3 separate regions of the Homo sapiens genome follow, and all the other regions are linked to region 2. The links are contacts of gene promoters, found by promoter capture Hi-C in blood cells and fetal thymus (Javierre and others, 2016). All regions are on one chromosome and are shown on one strand. Each heading gives the region's core, a stretch centred on a gene start or on the middle of the fragment in contact. The rest is flanking DNA. Distances are from core to core; before and after follow the strand shown. Region 1 holds the start of NEXN (nexilin F-actin binding protein). Region 2 holds the start of PIGK (phosphatidylinositol glycan anchor biosynthesis class K). Region 3 holds the start of FUBP1 (far upstream element binding protein 1).

The links. Contacts are between HindIII fragments. The CHiCAGO score rates a contact against its expected background, and 5 or more counts as called.
Region 1: the fragment with the promoter of NEXN here is called in contact with the fragment with the promoter of PIGK in region 2 in 2 of 17 cell types (erythroblasts and total B cells); the score reaches 11.0 in erythroblasts.
Region 3: the fragment with the promoter of FUBP1 here is called in contact with the fragment with the promoter of PIGK in region 2 in 8 of 17 cell types (fetal thymus, total B cells, naive CD8 T cells and 5 more); the score reaches 11.1 in fetal thymus.

The regions. Positions count from the first base shown.
Region 1 is chr1:77,886,230-77,890,232 of GRCh38, reverse strand. It overlaps NEXN (nexilin F-actin binding protein), which reads right to left and starts at 1,609. Exons shown (of 13, transcript NM_144573.4): 1 at 1,474-1,609. NEXN-AS1 (NEXN antisense RNA 1) reads left to right here and starts at 694. Exons shown (of 3, transcript NR_103535.1): 1 at 694-765; 2 at 965-2,633. RefSeq lists a silencer at 1,225-1,364 and an enhancer at 1,605-1,664. The HindIII fragment of the contact is 9,507 bases long and covers 1-2,441 here.
Region 2 is chr1:77,216,965-77,220,795 of GRCh38, reverse strand. PIGK (phosphatidylinositol glycan anchor biosynthesis class K) reads left to right here and starts at 1,366. Exons shown (of 11, transcript NM_005482.3): 1 at 1,366-1,486. The coding sequence starts at 1,394. LOC105378808 (a long non-coding RNA gene) reads right to left here and starts at 1,276. Exons shown (of 3, transcript XR_001738109.2): 1 at 1,143-1,276; 2 at 1-8. RefSeq lists an enhancer at 1,573-1,682. The HindIII fragment of the contact is 2,966 bases long and covers 438-3,403 here.
Region 3 is chr1:77,976,961-77,981,045 of GRCh38, reverse strand. FUBP1 (far upstream element binding protein 1) reads left to right here and starts at 1,974. Exons shown (of 20, transcript NM_003902.5): 1 at 1,974-2,161. The coding sequence starts at 2,042. It also overlaps a transcript of DNAJB4 not described here. RefSeq lists enhancers at 1,501-1,560, 1,571-1,720, 2,031-2,160, 2,171-2,230, 2,241-2,290 and 1 more. The HindIII fragment of the contact is 9,300 bases long and covers 1-4,085 here.

The DNA of each region.
Region 1 (4,003 bases), core at 360-2,859, 670 kb before region 2:
TTGTTCCTCAGAAGCATTAGTCAAAATATAAAATATCTGCAAAAATACGGTGTTAATTGTAAGGAAGAAGAAACTTAAACAGCTACATTGGTTAATCAAAGTTTACTTATACAAATTATACCTCCCCCCAAAAAACCTTTCTCTCATTTGATTAATTATGCATTTTTTCTTAACAATACCCCAAACTCAAAAGAATTTGAGACAAAGTTTTCTAACTGCAGCAGTTTAACCTGTAAAGGATAATGTTTAGCGGGGGAAATTATGTGGTCCACTCAATAACGTGTGACTAAGATATAAATAACGTGTGACTAAGATATGAACTTAAGTATAAATACTTAAGTTTATTTAATCACATTACCTAAGACATAGTTATGTTGTGACTCGAAGGCCAATGGGCCGCTGCTACATGAATTCATTAACAAAATTTAACGATGAATGATATTCCCGTTGTTTTGGTCAGGGAACTAATTTCTTTATTATGGCTTCTTTTCTCTACCTGTGTCTTCACCAAGGACATTTTGTTAGGACATATCCTTATGCTATTTTTACCTTGTTATCTCTCTGCCAACTTGGTTCACGTTGTGCTTTAATAACTATAAAATGAGCATCTCTAAGTCACTGCAGTAACCAACTATAACCTCTCAACTTCGTCATTTTCTTTATAAATGCCAATGCTAATGCATTTGTAGAACGTTTCACAATTTACAAACAGCTGGAATGGTTTGGCGTTTTCAAAAGCATATAGGCAAAGGGAGTTCTCAAGAGGTGACTACATTCTTCACTCACTTAAACTACGTAAACTTCGTAAACTTCCAGCCCTAGTTGCTCAACCCCCAGCATCCCACCTCGGGCAGAATCACGAAAAAAAAAAAAAAAAGGGTTGGAGACAGGAGTGGGGGGATATGCGGGGGTGTGGGGGGGGAGTAATAGGCTGTTAAATCATATTTCTCCCCATCTTCCACAGAGACCGATCAGAAAGGATTTCTTAACTGGCACTGCTGGCAGAGACGGAGACCGCGGCTGGGGCAAGTGGTGGGGGACGGCACTGAACTTCCCTAAGGACCCCAAGGGTTCAGCCGAGGGATCGGCACCCACTCCGCTCACAGAGGGCTCCCTCCCTACAGTAGGGAACGCACCCGAAACTCAGCCGACAAGGCGCAGGGGAGCAGGGCAAAGACATTGCAACCAGAAGCCCAAGGCCGGCCGACACTTTCAGACCCTGGGGCAGCCCCTGGTAGGCACCCCGCCGAGCCCGCAGGATGCGGCTCCAAGGCAGGGTTCGCCCGGGCCGGGGCCAGCGCGGACCACAGCTGTATGGCGCCCGGCGCCCTCCGGAGCTGCAGCGGAGCACGGCCAGAAGCCGCAGACCCCGAGCGCCTCTCTGCAGCCGCCGTTCCCGCCCCCGCCCCCACCAGGGGACCCGACACCTCCGTCTCCACTCCCCCCAGCCCACGTTCCCCCAACTCTTCTCACCCTGCAGGAGCCGGTGACCGGCGAAGGTACTTCTTTCCGCGTGGAGGGACTGTGCGCGTCCCGCCTGGCTGTGGGTAGGGGTCTGGGAGCTCTGGCCGCTAACACTTCTGCTCCAGCCGCTGGGAGTCCTCTGGCTGCCGCTGCCGCCGCCGCCGCCGCCGTCTCCAGCAGCAAGTTTCCATAAAAGTCCTGGTGTGCAGCCTGTTCCCGCATTCCAGGCGGGCCCAGCGCCGGCTGCAGCTGTTCCAAAACACAAGGCCAGTTCCCCCAACCCCCCACCTCCGCCGTTATCACCCGGAGTGGGGGTGGAGAGTTGAGGAGAAAAGCAGGGGAGGGGGACCGTGGCTGCCAACTTTCCGCCAGAATTTGTCTGTCTCCCGGCCCTAGGTGCGCGAGCTGACCCCCTAACTTTGGGCCTGCCTCCACCTCCAGCCAGGCCTGGGGAAGGAAGGCTGCCTCCGCCATGGGAAAGGAATGAGGCTGAAATGGGCTTCATTACCGGGCTGAAGCTGGCTCCCCCTACCCGCAACCAGTTTGCTCTGGGGCCCACTTCTCTCAGCTACTCTACCCGTCCTAGTTTCCAGTCAAGAAGCCAAGCCACTACATATCTTCTACTACCCTAAGCATTGACCTTTGGCCAAGTTTTCCTTTATTACAAAGAGCGTGGGGCAGCAATCCGGGAACACTTCATCTGTCTATTGCTCCCCTGTTCTTAGCTCCAGTCTTTAACTCTAAAAGGAGAGTTAAAAAAGAAGAAGAAGAAGAAGAAGAAGAAGAAGAAGAAGAAGAAGAAGAAGAAGAAGAAGAAGAAGAAGAAGAAGAAGAAGAAGAAGAAGAAGAAGAAGAAAGTTGAAGGCAGAGGAGGAGGAGGAGAAGAAAAGAAGGAATATATTTATATAAGTACAAATATCTTTATATTCCACCTTTTTCTTAATTGAAGGCAAACCATATCTGGTCTTTCTAAAGCTTCATAAAGGCATCTTTGACTATTAGACACCCACAGACCTTTTTCAACTTGGACCGCCAGCCTGTCAAACCCATCAGACAATACCATATTAAAACCCGAAATGCACACTCGGAGTATTTTTGGTGGACGAGATCTTTAATTCTTCACTGCACTTGAAAAAAAAATCGAAATGACATCCAGATAAAGAATAAAGGTAACCACTTCCACCTTCAGGCCCTAAGCAGACAGCGGTGCTCAGGTTATATTTCAGGGATGTTGAAAAGGCCTTCTGGGCTGGGCGCGGTGGCTCATGCCTGTGATCCCCGCACTTTGGGAGGCCGAGGCGGGTGGATCACTTGAGGTCAGGAATTCAAGACCAGCCTGACCAACATGGCAAAAGGCCGTCTTTACTAAAAATACAAAAAATTAGCCTAGTGTGGAGGCACACACCTGTAATCTGAGTTACTCAGGAGGCTGAGGCAGGAGAATCACTTGAAGCCAGGAGGCGGAGGTTGCAGTGAGCAGAGATCATCCCACTGCACTCCAGTCTGGGTGACAAAATGAGACTCTGTCTCCAAAAAAAAAAAAAAAGGCCGGGCGCGGTGGCTCCTGCCTGTAATCCCAGCACTTTGGGAGGCCAAGGCGGGTGGATCACCTGAGGTCAGGAGTTTGCGACCAGCCTGGCCAACATGGTGAAACTCTATCTCTACTAAAAATGCAAAAAATTAGCCGGGCGTGGTGACGTGCGCCTGTGATCCCAGCTACCTGGGAGGCTGAGGTTGAAGAACCCACTTCGCTTGAACCCGGGAGGCTGAGGTTGCTGTGAGCTGAGATGGCGCCATTGCACTCCAGCGTGAGCAACAAGAGTGAAACTCCCTCTCTCTCTCTGTTTCTCTCTCTCTCACACCCGTACACACAAAAGGCCTTCTACTCAAATATAACTCTGTTCCCCAGTCCCATCCCCACAGTATTTACTCAGGATGGAAACTTTTCTAAGGAGGGTAAGCCATTCATTCCTCGATTACAGAAAAGTTCAAAATTGGTAATTAAAATTATTTAAATGTACCGAACTACGGATAGTGATAGGTGGTCTTGGTAGTCTTGCTTGTGCCCTTGCTCTCTTTGATGCCATCACCTTGGCCTTCTTCAGTTCATGAAACTTTCTATGGGCAGTCTGGCTGCAGGGCCTTTGTATAAGTTGTTCCCTGCATGAAATCCTTTCTCCCACTTTCCCCTTCACCTAACTTCAACATATCCTCCCGATCTCTTCTTAAATGCTGCTTCCTCGGAGAAGGCTTCCTTGCATCCCACCTTTCTCCCCACCTTGCACCTCACCTTTCATCCCACCTTTCTCTTCCCTATATATATATATTCCTATTTATTTGCTTATTTATTTATTTATTTATTTATTTATTTATTTATTTATTTGGAGATGTAGTCTCGCTCCGTCGCCCAGGCTGGAGTGCAGTGGCACGATCTCAGCTCACTGCAACCTCCGCTTCCCCAGTTCAATCGATTCTCCTGACTCAAAAGTAGCTGGGATTACAGGCGCGTGCCACCACACCTGGCTACTTTTTGTATTTT
Region 2 (3,831 bases), core at 117-2,616:
ATAGATATCTGTTGAATTAATGAATACATGGAAGATATTCTGGCAGTGTATTTACTTTCTAGGATTCACGTAACGGAAAACCTAAATTTGACTAAATAGCATGAAACCTCTCACAAAGTGCAATAGCAAAAGAAACAAATAAAAGGAAAAGAGAGACAAGAGAATGGGAAAAGCAATAGCATAAAATATGGCAAAGGCTAATGTTACTTATTTATAAATATATTATTCAAATTCATATGCAAAACATAAATATATAAACAAAGAATTTACATCAGAGGACACAGAGATAGTTTAGAAACACAAGAAAGACATCAGATCTTGATAGTAACCAAAGAATTATAAGTATAGTTACCTAGGGGTAACATTTCATACCAAAGAATTTAAAGGAAAAAAAATGGTATGGTTTGGTGTTGTGTATTCTGATAGTGCTGTAAGCTTGTTCATTTTGGAAAGCAACATCATTTATAGTTATTAAAATGTTTTGGAATATTTTGACCCCAAATTCCTAGTTCAGGAAAATTATACAAACAAAATAATTCAACAGATTTAAAAAGCCAAACACACAAAAGATACTCTTTACAATATTATTTTCATAGTAAAACTTAAAAACTTTGCATTGTGCAGCAGAGGGACAATTACTTTGGCTGAGGCATCAATAATGGATGGAATTTTATCTCACCATTAAATGTTAAAATTGTGAGGAAGCAGCGTGGAAACGTTTATGTCATACTAGATGAAATGCATAAATTAAAACTGAACTCACATAATAAAGAGAATGGTGGACCATACATATACACCAGCTGTGTCTCTTCCAGATAGGCTTTAGTTCCATAATTACAGAAGATACTCAAGAAACAAAAACGTAACTAGCTTCCCATGTTAATCCTTTCACCAGGTAGTAGACCCCAAGCCTCTAAATTGCAGCGCCCACCCACATTTTCCATTTATAGTTTATCCAATTAATCATCTTTTTGTGCCAAAACGCTTGTTCTTCCCACCACATCCAGCTTCATATTTTCAAAGAATTGGCAGCACTCGGCAAAATAAATAAATAAATAAATAAATAAATAAATAAAATAAATAAGGGAACAGAGAAATAAGTTTTTAAAGTTTAAGGAGTTACGGGTTTTCCCTCCACTCACCTTTCAATTTTTTTTCTTAAATGTTATACCTATTTTACAACCTCCAAACTGAAAATGCAGTTAAAAATAAAAAGGTCAATATCCTGCGTCTACCTTGTCCCGGACTCTCGAGCTCCACAAAACCGCAGAGTTCTAAAGCCGGACCAGAGGGCCACCTCGAAGAGGCGCGGATGGTGTCGCAAAAACCCGCAGCGCTACTTTACGGCACTGCCTCCGCCCCTTCAGGTGCGGGAAGTCTGAAGCCGGTAAACATGGCCGTCACCGACAGCCTCAGCCGGGCTGCGACTGTCTTGGCAACTGTGTTGCTCTTGTCCTTCGGCAGCGTGGCCGCTAGTCATATCGAGGTAGGAGTCAGGCTCATTTGACCACAGCCGGGAGGCCGGCTGTGAGCCCTCCAGCAGATGTCCGATACACAGTAGCTGAGGGACGCCTCCTGGAGTCAATCAGCCCCTGACCCAGGCTGGGTTTGAGGAGGGTATCACTGGGCACGGGTTAGGACACTGTTGGTCTGTTTCAGCGTTTTAAAACGATGAATTGAAATAATCAAACCCTCGGAGACAGAGGAGGACCTGATCCTTTGCTCCTACATGTGTGCAGTTCTTAGGTGAAATACGAGCAAGAGGCTCGTGAAATGTCAGTGTGCAGCAACTGCTTTCCTACTACTCAACTGCAGCCCTCTGTTTTGATAGGAGTCAGACGGAACTGGAGAGATGAGGGCAATTTTAAGAATCCAGATAATAGAATTTAGTGATAATTAGAACATGGGATAAATATAAGTGTTTATTAAAACTCTCAAGTTTCTGGCTTAGGGGCAACACGTCTGGGTTAAGAAATGGAAGAGAAAAGGGGTGCTTAGTTTTATCCTGGGCTCCTCCAGCTTCCCATTTTTAAACGTGGACACAGGATGTTCTGGTGCTCTATAATGCTTTTACTATTCACCATACTCTGATGATTCCTCAGTCCCGGTCTACAATCTAGATGTCTGGTATCTTTTTCAGGCCTGCATATCCAGCTGACTAAGAATCCGGGATAGTCAGGAGACATTTGAAAATCCGTGTGCAAAGTTTTATCTTCTGCTTATCCTACCTCCTCTTAAAAAGACACTGAAAAACTAAGCACCCCTTTTCTCCTCCATTTCTCAACCAGATGTGCTGCTCCTAAGCTAGAAACCTGAGAGTCTTAATCTCTTTATCCCATATTCTAATTATCACTAAATTTTGTGATCTGAGTTCTTAAAATTGCCCTCACCTCTCCAGTTCCACTGACTTAATTCAGGCTGTGATCACTTCTTGTCTAGACTCTTGCGATTACTTTATCTTGTTTTCCATAGGCCTCCATACTCCCTGAGTTTGGTGCTAGATTCGTCTACACGAAATGTAAGCCTGATCAGGTTATTCTTCTGATGAAATCTTTTAAATATTTATTAATTGCATACAGAATAAAGTCTAAACGTTATGACCTGGTGCTTGCCTACTTTTCCAGTGTTCCATATTGGAACCTCTTCTCCCCACCACCTGGGCACCTTGAGCTTAGACCAGTGGACTCCAAACTTTTTGAATACACACCCTATCAGTTAAAAAAAGATATTGAGCATGAACTTCATATATATTTATGAATTACTGTTAATTTATATATTTGATGTTTATATAGCATAATTTTTAGAGAACATAAATATGAGTAAATAGAAGTTCTGTTTCCCTCCTTTATTCTAACTTTGACTGCTTCATCTTGGATACTATTACTGTTTTTTGTAGTTACATAATTGCTGTGCTTTTTCACATTACAATATTTTATACATTGTGTTTCCTCTGTTCATGTGCTAAGATACAGTAAAGGCATAACCTCTGTAGAACGTTTCCCTATCTCTTACCTTTGCCTTTACTCTTGTAATTTGTACACTTGATACAGCACTCATTTACTATAACCCGTGTATGGTTTGTACTGTTATTCCATCATATCTCACTTAGAGATAGGAGCAACAGTTTCCTAAATGTTTTGCCTTGAGTCGTTGTTTTTTCCTTTCAATCTGTTCTCCAAATTGAAGCCAGAGTAACTTTTAAAAATGCAGTTCCAATCATGTCACCCAGGGACCTTGATGTTGCTCAAAAGATCACCTTAATGTTGCTCTAAACTCTCCACCATGACCCACAAACAAAAACCCTGCATATTTTTTGGGCCCTGACTACACTTCAAATTTTTTCTTTCTCTTTCAAACTTCTAGTTAGGCTAACTTTCTTTCAGTTTCTCAAAACCTTTAAGCTTTTTCTCACATTAGAGCTGTCTCCCCTCTGTCTGGAATTGTATTTCCTCTTTTCTTCATCTTTTGGATTTTAACCCAACAGTCACTTCTTTAGGAAAACTTTCCTGACCAGGTCAGGTCCCTCTGTTGTACTCTTATTATATTGTGTGTCTTTCCTTATCTGTTAAATGTATATCTATCCAATTAGATAGTAACCTATTTGAAGGCAGTACTATGGCTATTTTTGCCCAGCATTGTATTTGGAGCACTCAGGGCAGTGACTGGCATGTTGCCCAATGAGTGTGATGAATTAATGAATGTAATAATTATAGTGTAATGTGTTTGCATGCTCCTCTTTATTGAACTCTGGATTCTTGAGAGAAAGCAGCATGCTTTTTAGTGATTTTTGTATCACTATATATTAATGGTATCTGGCACATAATAGGTGCT
Region 3 (4,085 bases), core at 725-3,224, 760 kb before region 2:
GATTGTATTGCCTAATTAATAAAATATGAAAAAATCAAGACATTTTCAAAATACAACTGGAAAATTTCTACCTAGCCGCACACCCAACACTGCTTTTACTGTTTTTCTATACATTATGATTAAATCTGTAGTCCCATACGTGCACTGATTTTTCAAATGCAAATTCCACCAAAATTTATAGGGATGGCCATGAACACTGAAAAAGATCATCAGAGCTATAAATGGATACTACTGCCTTAAAAGCTGATTAAAGGGAAATGATGGCTCACCTGTATCTACATTCATATTAACTGCTATTTTGGTGCTTAAGCAAATGAACACATTACTTTTAGGTTTTCAGAAAGAATGCAGCATATATATATTTCTCACAATTACTCTTAAGAGCTGCTGAAAAAGTATTTTTTTAGACCTAACCAAGTAAGACAAAATGCCACAAAGTCGAGAAAGTTCATTTTACCTCATTGTTTGTTATTTAAACAAATAATTTTGGAAAAAAAAAGTCACTGTGATATACTCAATAATAAAGAGTAAGACTTCTAAAGTATCCTCACGATTCCTGGAGCTTACTACTATTAACACAGTAAATTACATGCCACGATATGTTGGAGAAGGTCTGAAGAAATGTCTGGCATTACTTGGTAACTGAAGTACATAACATAAAATACCAATTTACACACACACACACACACACACACACACACACACATATATATATATATATACCTAGTCCTGTGATGACAATTCAGAATATGATCTTACATTTGAGTACCCACAGGATGGGGTGGGAGAAACTACGCCTAAGAAGCTACAAAATCTATTTTGGTCAAGAAACAATGCTGTTCTTAACTTAAGAGACCTTAACAGGCCGGGCGCAGTGCCTCGCGCCTATAATCCTAGCATTCTGGGAGGCCGAGGCGGGTGGATCACGAGGTCACGAGATCGAGACCATCCTGGCTAACACGGTGAAACCCCGTCTCTACTACAAACGCAAAAAATTAGCCCAGACGTGGTGGCAGGCGCCTGTTGTCCCAGCTACTCGGGAGGCTGAGGCAGGAGAATCGCTTGAACCCAGGAGGCGGAGGATGCAGTGAGCCGAGACCGCGCCACTGCACTCCAGCCTGGGTAACAGAGCGAGACTCTCAAAACAAACAAACAAACAAAAAAAAACCCTTAATAAAAATGGCCATGGACACATACATATACTAGGTTATTAAATCTGGCTAACACTGAACTTTAAGAACAATCACGTTTTTGGATAAAGAAAAGGGCAGTCATACTTTTAGAGCCTCATCCACATTATTTTAAACAAAAAACTTAAAATATGGTCGAGAACTAACAGGCTTCCAGCCTGAATTCAACACCCACCCTCGTGATAAAACTAAAAAATCGGACAGTCTGTAAGTAAAATACAGGGACACTTTACTACCCTGAAAATCATGCTGGGTTCCCGCTACGCCGGGCAGACGTTTTCAGGAGCATCACCGCGCGGCGTCTCGGACGCACTTCTCCTGGCGCCCTCCGGGCGGCAGCGCTCTCGAGACACTGTTGCTTCGCCGTCACGCCCGTCGTTGTCACGCCCTTCCCCGCGGACACCGAGAATGACCCATAGCGGAAAATTCTACCGCACTACCTCCCTGAGGCAGCGACCGGTAAGAAACAACCTTTTCTTCAGGCTTCCCACCACCCAAACACAGTCGCAGTCAACTGGCCACTATCACCCACCACCCTGCAGGAACAATTACCCAGCCTCACCCCAAGAACGCGCGGAGAGGAGGTGCCAAAAGAAATTCTGTTCTCGCGAAGTCTTAAACTTAATCCTCGCGACGTCTCTGTTCCTGTCGTTCTTTCTCAGCCCTAACCCACACCAGCGCGTTGCCTCGGAAACATCGCGAGATTTTGTTCCTTCAGTCTCCGCCCCTTTACGGCACGATGGTCGCGCAAGAATGTAATAGAGCTTCGACGGCCGCCATTTTCTTTCTTTCTTAGCTGTTAGCTGAGAGGAAGTCTCTGAACAGGCGGCAGCGGCTCTTATAGTGCAACCATGGCAGACTATTCAACAGTGCCTCCCCCCTCTTCTGGCTCAGCTGGTGGCGGTGGTGGCGGCGGTGGTGGTGGAGGAGTTAACGACGCTTTCAAAGATGCACTGCAGAGAGCCCGGCAGGTAAGTGTGGACCGCGCGGCGGAATCCCGAAAGCTCACGGTAATTGGCCGCTGACTGAGTAGGCCGCTACCCTTAAGCGCATGAGGAAGAGGAAAGAGGTGTTCTTCCGGGCTGAAATGTGAAGAGACACGTTTCCCCATGTTGGTAATAACGATTAGAGACCAGAACCCAGTTTTGTGTTCTTGGTGCCTAATCCACTTAGAACCCCGACGCGTGCTACGCAAAGAAGGCCTGAAGTCTTTCTCCCGCTTCTGCGGCACTCGCGTGTCTCCAGTGAGCTAGTTTAGATAAAGATCCTCTTCCAGGGGATAAAGCGCAGTTAGTTTCACACAATTTAATGGAAGGTTCTGGTAATGAGTTTGGGAAAGAACTAGGGTCTGTCCTGGAGCCATAGCAAGGGAAGGGATTTATCATTAAAGTAGCCTTTACAGCTCATTTCCGTTCTCTCTCGCAATTAAAACCGCTTTCAGTACCATTCACCGTCACACCTCTACAAGGAAGGGACTTGAAAGCAGCCTTTTTCTGGGCGGGATTTACGTGTCAGTCTGTTCCACCAGTCCGCCCCCCTTATTTCTCAAAATGGCCTCAGGCCCATTATACCAGAGGTTTCAATTTGAATCTGCCTCTCAGTTCAGAGTCGTAAACTGACCAGACCTCTTTGTATTACGTAGTGCGTGCATTTGCCCTGAAGGCACCACTTTCCCAGACGAAAGCTGTTAAAATAGTGCGTGTATTCCAGGAAAATAAAAGATACCTTAATTTGAACTTTACATTCTTAGATAGTCCCCTAATATATTTAACATTTCAAAATGTATGGTGTTGGTATAGATTTGCATGTAAGCAAAAGAATCCTATTCTCTGTGACACTATGCATATTGTACTAGGTGCTGGGCATTTTTTACTAGTTTTAAGCTAATGATAATTAGAAACCAGTGTTGTGCTGTGTTTTCGTTGCATTAGGAGTTCACTTAGTTAACTTTTTACCGGGACAGTTGAAGGAACATTGAGTCAAAATTAGAATTCATAAAATCCGTTGTAACACATCTAATGTGAACGCATTATAAACATGTACCTGTACTTTTTTATAACCAGAAATACTAGGAGTAGTCAACAAAAGGTCATCATTAATATTAGTTCTGCGGTTTTTTCCACGTAATTTAAGAAATTCTGAACATGTTTAGCAACAAGCATATAACTATGACAAACACTCTTAGCGTGTTTTATTAGATTGATTTGTAAAACTTAAGGGAACTATTTTATTTACTGGAACCAACTATTTTATTTTACCAGAACCAGCACATTGGATTAATTGGTATCGCACACTGTAGGTAGATACTGGAGTTTTGTTTTGTTTTGTTTGAGACGGAGTCTCCCTCTGTCGCCCAGACTGGAGTGCAGTGGTGCGATCTCGTCCCACTGCAACCTCTGCCTCCCGGCTTCAAGCAATTCTCCTGCCTCAGCCTCCCGAGTAGCTGGGATTACAGGCGCCCGCCACCATGCCCGGCTAATTTTTTGTGTTTTTTTTGTTTGTTTGTTTGTTTTCAGTAGAGACAGGGTTTCACCATGCTGGCCAGGCTGGTCTCGAACTCCTGACCTCGTGATCCGCCCGTCTTGGCCTCCCAAAGCTGGGATTACAGGCGTGAGCCGCTGCGCCCGGCCTTGTTTTTTTTCGTTTGTTTGTTTTAATGCATGAATTGTTTCCTACTAAGAAGCTATGATATAGTTCCTTGACCAAATGCAGATGAACAGGATTATCTGATTAATACTTTAACGAGAGCAGACAAAATATGGATATTTAATTCATCCACTTGCTTTATAAGTGTTTATAGAGTTTGTTAGGAGGGGATGCCCAATTTCCTAAGTAAAGGTGATATATGAGCAAGACATTATAAAATGAAAGAGAGTTTGGCCAGTGAAGAAAAGA